Regions from separate parts of the Homo sapiens genome. Here region 2 is linked to region 1. Evidence: promoter capture Hi-C in 16 types of primary human blood cells and fetal thymus (Javierre and others, 2016). All regions are on one chromosome and are shown on one strand. Each heading gives the region's core, a stretch centred on a gene start or on the middle of the fragment in contact. The rest is flanking DNA. Distances are from core to core; before and after follow the strand shown.

Region 1 (2,992 bases), core at 272-2,771:
TCTTGCTACATTATGACAGTGAGTGTGGTCAGAGCAGCCAGGAATGAATGCCAAGGGAAGATGAGGAGTGCAAGAAATTGTCCGTAACTCCCTGAAAATACTGTAACGAATCTGGTCTAATGTGTTTCTCAGAGACCAGAAAACTTATGACTCTCTCTTCACATTCCACTAGTTCAATTTTTTGAGTTCACATTTGTTTCTCATTCTTGGCTTAGCTGATGCATTCCAAGCTTATTCTTCTAAATTATTATGTATTTGCCCCAAGCAAAGAACTTTTAATGCACAGAGTTTATGGGCTATTCTCTATAACTTTAAGGAAAATGAAATTATTTATACCTGGAGTAGGAAATCCTTAAGCAGGATAAAAAAAACCAGTTGAAATCAATAGTTGCCACATGATAATACATTTCTATTCACAAATGGCCTGGTTCCAGGTAAAACTTCAGGATACAGAGAATGCTAGAACGTGCAGCAAAATGAAAGCCCAGACCACTTAAGTAAACTTTCCAGTCTCTTGTTAATAGCTGAGTAAATCTCTGGGCAATCCTCAAGAGGTTCTTAGAAGTCGTCCCTCGTTTATATCTAGAAGGTTCTTGTAATTGTCTTGTAAATCTCCAAAGATATTTAGAGATTACTTTGCTTTAAATAGAGACCAAAAATGACACAAAACTAAAGCTGGACTATTGCCTGGTACACTATTTCTACCTAGTGCAATTTTTAATTTCTTAAAAATCAAGTGATCTGACAGCACAATACTTGTCAAGTACTTGTCATACTGAGATGTTTCTTGCCATCCATATGTATATTTTTGCCAACTATATTTATTGACTATTGATGCTTATTCCAGGTGGCTGAGTCACCCCAATGCTTGGAGGAAGCAAGCAGGGTACAAATCAATTGATCAATGAAAACACTAACGACTGACTTTTAAATCACAAAGCCATTTTAGAGTATAAGTAAATACCTGAAATAAAGAAGGCACTTCACTCACTCCTTCTCTTCCATTCCCATCAACTTTTGTGGGTAAATGCAATAGGTAATTGAAAACTTAATATCACAACCCCTAAATAGTCAAACAGCCTCTAGTAACTTGTTTCTTCCTGGAAAAGATGAATCTGATCCCAATTAACTTAAATAAAACAAACCAAACAAAACTCTCCACTACCAGCCTGGCAGCTAGGGAGGCATTATTGGGTCTGAATGTAGGAAATCAGGAAATACTTACAATCAAGATGAACGTGCCCAAGAACTCAGAGAGGGTTTCTTTCGCTAAGCTGCTCTTCAAGACCAGTCTCTGCTTGAAGCTTTTTCCCTTTTCTGCTCCCTCAGGCTGCATCTTGGGGCTTCTCTGAGGACTCCTGTTTCTACCAATACCTACCTGTTGTGGTCCTCACTTTCACAGCCAGATGAAAATGGACGTTTTGACAATGGCTCACAGATTCCTGGAGATGTCTGGTAAGAGTCTCTGACTGTACAAATGCCGTTCCAATTAGAGGCTGTGGCTTAATCGTCTTCTGGTGGAACTGTCATTCCCTGTTCGCTGCTATTTGTTTGAATCTGCGACTTAGAACCCGAAATCCCCAAAACAATCCCTTTTGTGCCTGACAGATTAATCATTACCTTTATTCTCAAGGTACTTTTTTCTCTGTTGGTTTTTTTCAAGAGATGAGAAAAGAGATGTGCCAGTTGTGTTGCCAAATCACAGTGACGGGCCCTGGTCCAGAAAAGATTTTCATGTTACACAATTGCAGGCTTCTGATTTTTTTTTCTTCTCATTCAGAAGTGGGTGGTTGGGGTGTAGTTTGGAACTGTCAAATCAGGTGTAGATATATCCAATGTTAACATTCTTTTCTGAAAAAGGTTTTTATGCAAAATGAAGAATTTGAAGAAAATATAGATTTATCATCCTAGAAGATTAATCACTCTTGTTTTCTTCTGGTATCATTTCAGTGGCTTCATGATACCACTCTGAGGTTAGTAAGAACCACATAGGCCATCCTAGAGATGGAGAAATTAACATACAGAGAAACCATTGCAAGCTTCACACTGCAAGTCTGTAGGACAGATGGAGTCACCTCTTCGGTTATGAAACTGGGCTTCACTTGCTGAAGATACTTTAGGATCCAAGAATCAGAAAGATGGAGGAGTCACCTTTTTGGTGACTTCTGAAGTTTCTTCTGAAGAAACATTCCAGTTTGGGTTTCTTCTGAAGAAGCATTCCAGTTTGAAAATAGTCACTCTTCTTCATTCACCATGAAATATTTAGACATAATACATAGGAAATAAACAATAGCAGCTTGAAATTCTTTACTGCATGGAGATGACTGAGCCGGAAAGAGATCAATTAGCGTGTATGTCATTCTAATCAAACGAGAAAGGGAGCCAGTACACCTAACCGAGGCTCCTAGGTTATACCCTTTCAATTTGATAAATTGACATCCTTGCTGGCAAGAAACTGTGTTTGGGAGTAGCTCCTTGTCCTGCCAAATATTCAAGCCTTGTTTTTCAAAACTGGCTTATCTGAAGAAATAGAATATAGCATTAGTTTCTAAATAGCAAGGCAGGCCTAGTTTCTGATTACCAATGTGGACTCATGGAATTAGTATCCATGCTGTGTGGTTCCTTCCAGTCCTCCCACAGGGAAGCCAGCTCTGCATCAGGCCCTCCCCTAGCTTTGCAAAAAGGGAGGGAGGAGAGGACATGGAGAAAGCAGCTGGTGAGAGGCCAAAGGCAGAAGGAGACTTCTCATCTGTAGGTGACATTTAGAATTTAGACTTTAAAAAGTTATAACCTGCCTGAGGCCACACTACTGCAGAACCAGGACAAAACCTCAGCACTTTGGCTTTAATTCCTGATGAAGTTATCATAAATACCATTGTCTAGAAGAGTTACCTATGACCACACCATTACCAAGTCCCAGTGGATGGACCAGAGAAACAGGACTTTCTTACTGTGACTACAGCTAATAACATGCAAGAGCGTTCTCTGGTCT
Region 2 (2,992 bases), core at 211-2,710, 67 kb after region 1:
GGTGTGTATGCACTAGAAACATGACATAGTGTTATATATAATGCTTTTAATGGAAAAAAAATAAGCTGCCCTTGTTTTCACCTCTATTATCTCTTCTGGCTAGGTCTATACCAAAGGGTATTATACTTGAGATCATATAACTCGAATTTGGGAAGTGGGAGGTAATCTCAGCTCCAAGTATTTGCTTTTAGAAATTCCAGTTTTACAAATTGCTAATTTGGTAGATACCGTCAGTTACCTTTACACTAAAAAATGTCAAAGAAGTTCTTTGTTGGGCTATGTTCTGGAAAATATTCTCTTCATCTTTTGTGACACATGTTCTTCGGAGCACTTAGAAGATTATAAATGCCCATGGGAGGCCCCCCCAAAAATATTTGTGCGTGGGTTGTGTGTGGGTTGTGAATGGGCTGTCCCCTTTTAGACATCCTCTTTCACTCTCATTGTACACTGGATATTCTGACTTCTTTCCTGTCTCATGTGAATATTTTCACAGATTTGGTTACTGTCATTCCACCCTCACTGTGAATTTGAGGGTAGGGATGTGCCACAAACTTCCGTTGGGTTCTTCATAGACTCTTTGTCAATGCTTGGCACATAGTATATGCTCAATGAATATTTGTTCAATTGAACTTAGATGACTGACAGAGAAAAAAAATCCAGGTTTAGGAACTGCAGTCAGGAAAACACAGATGCTCTGAAAGTGGGGTTATACAGCCTGAAGCAAGACCGCTCCTTGCCATTTGGTGGTAGATGTCCAAATTGGGTACCTATTCCAGCCCTAAATGCCTCCCAGTTTTACTCTATGCCTTTCACACAGCAAACCGTTTGGTTGAGACAAAAGAGGCTGCCATGCCTCCTCTGTTGTCAGGACGTCTAAAGTGTTCCTCGTTATCTTTTCAGTGGCCCATTTCAGCATGTAAAAAGAGAGAGACAGTTCACTTAGCCTCATTTTCTAATGAATATAAATACAGATCCCTGCCCCGAATAGTGCCAAAGTTCATGTGAGAATTCCTTATGTCCAAAGATCCTGTGAGTTGAGTGGCTGTATAAGCGCAGATGCACTTGGGGAGGAAGCTTAGGAATCGGAGGGTCCTATGTTAAGTATTAGGCTGATGCCAAAGTAACTGAGGCCTTTGCCACTACTTTTAAATGGCAAAACTCGCAATTACTTTTGCACCAACCTAATAATAACAGGAGTTATTTGTAGAATTGACGGATTTTAGAAGGGTAAAAGGAAAAAGGAAAGCTAAGAAATGTGAAATAAAGAAAAAAGCAGACAACTTAGTTACACGCCAAGTCCTTAACTGAGCGAGAAGAGAAATAAATTCTGGAATCTGTCTATTAATAATTCTTCCTCACCCACAAGATAAAAACAGTAGCTTCCAATCTGAGACACACTCATGCAACTTCCTCTGTGACAGAGTGCTCTGAACACTATGTGAGTGGGACCATAGTGTTCTCAGTATTGCACTTTCTACGGTAAATTTGGCTAAGAAACACTTTTGTTCTTTTCCTGTAAGTCAAAAGAAAGTCCTCCTAAACTAACTAAAATCTAAAATTTGTCTGACTCTAGGAGATTTTTTTTCTCCAGACAAATTCAAATTAAATGATAACATCTCTTAAGGATTTCTCACCAGTATCAGATAAAAATACATTGAATCCAAGCTATTTGAATGGACAATACTCAGTTGCACATACACACCATCAACTGCAGGGGGCGCCAATGCCTTTTCCCTCAGGCCCTTCAGAAAAGGCGGTGCAGCTGGAATTTTAATTTCTTCCTGTCTGTTAAGTGTGATTATTGATGAAGTACTGCGCTCATCCCAGTACCCAAATTGAAGCTTCTCGAACATATACGAAATGGAACTGGGCCTTACAACAAAGGCAAATCTAGTTCCCATGTTTAAAATAGTCTCCGGGGTCCCTGAAAAGTAGAGGGTATATTTTAAAAGAAAAGAACTGTGTTTTGTATCAAAACATAGTTTTTTGAGTCATAACCAATTAGGACTCTACTCCCTGCAACTCCAAATACCTCTTCTCATAGAATATAGTGACCAGAGGCCATATCAAGAAATGAGGAACTTAATATCTAGAGAATTTTTATGGTTAATAAATACCACAGTCTCAGCCTCTTTTCTTCTGGATGTTAGAAGGAAAAGGATAATTAAATGAGAGTTTAGATCTCACATAAAAAGTTAATATACAGGTTAAATAAAAATATAAGTGGATTTATTTTATAGAAGTTTTCATAATGGGTCCCAAATACTTCATTAAGCATTTCTGGATAAAAATATGTAAAGCTCTTTATAAGCTTTTGTTAATAAATTAAATACCATTTCTCTATAAATATATTTTGCATTAAGCTTTCCTGTTAGAGTTTTCAGGAAACATTTCAAATAAAGTGGCCAGGCATATCCCATTTGAGATGAATGAGATCATTAGGAAACACTTATATCTGAAATAAGCACTGAGATCATTCTGCATACAACCTGAGGGCCCTAATTTTTTAAATATTTCAAACAATGTGCCTCTTTCAAATCATTAGATGTAGAGACATTTAAGGAACTGATTCAATTAGCCCAGAAGAGGGGAATGCTATAATGTGTGATTTATTTTTGAAGATAAATTAAAATGCAAGTGTATCTGTTAGGAAAGGTAGGCTGTCATCATGGTTAGTAATGGGAACAGGAAAGCAATTAAGCAGGGCCACCTGAGGCTGAAACAGCCCCTAAACATAGAAACTTGACATTCAAGCTGGACATTCGGTTACTGTCAAAATCAAGTGCATCTTCTTTGAGAGGGATCTTTGAGCTGCATTTAGTTCCCTTCATTGATTTCTAAAGACTAGTTCTCAACTTAACAAATACTTTCCTCCCCTTAACTGCAGCTAACAAGAAACCTAAACTGTTATGGTTTCATAACTTAAAGTCAAACTTCACATAAAGCTGATGCCTTAAAATTACAGCTTTGCATTCTATTATTTAGGTGAGGA

The links. The method cuts DNA at HindIII sites, captures the fragments that hold promoters and counts their contacts. A CHiCAGO score of 5 or more calls a contact.
Region 2: a fragment that was not itself captured here is called in contact with the fragment with the promoter of AQP9 in region 1 in 2 of 17 cell types (M2 macrophages and M1 macrophages); the score reaches 5.7 in M2 macrophages.

Annotation. Positions count from the first base shown.
Region 1 is chr15:58,136,910-58,139,901 of GRCh38, reverse strand. AQP9 (aquaporin 9) reads right to left here and starts at 1,521. Exons shown (of 6, transcript NM_020980.5): 1 at 1,226-1,521. The coding sequence starts at 1,336. The HindIII fragment of the contact is 735 bases long and covers 1,307-2,041 here.
Region 2 is chr15:58,069,740-58,072,731 of GRCh38, reverse strand. ALDH1A2-AS1 (ALDH1A2 antisense RNA 1) reads right to left here. Exons shown (of 3, transcript NR_147215.1): 3 at 27-1,924. Among named protein-coding and RNA genes, the nearest start is that of ALDH1A2, 5.5 kb to the right of the region's middle. The HindIII fragment of the contact is 767 bases long and covers 1,077-1,843 here.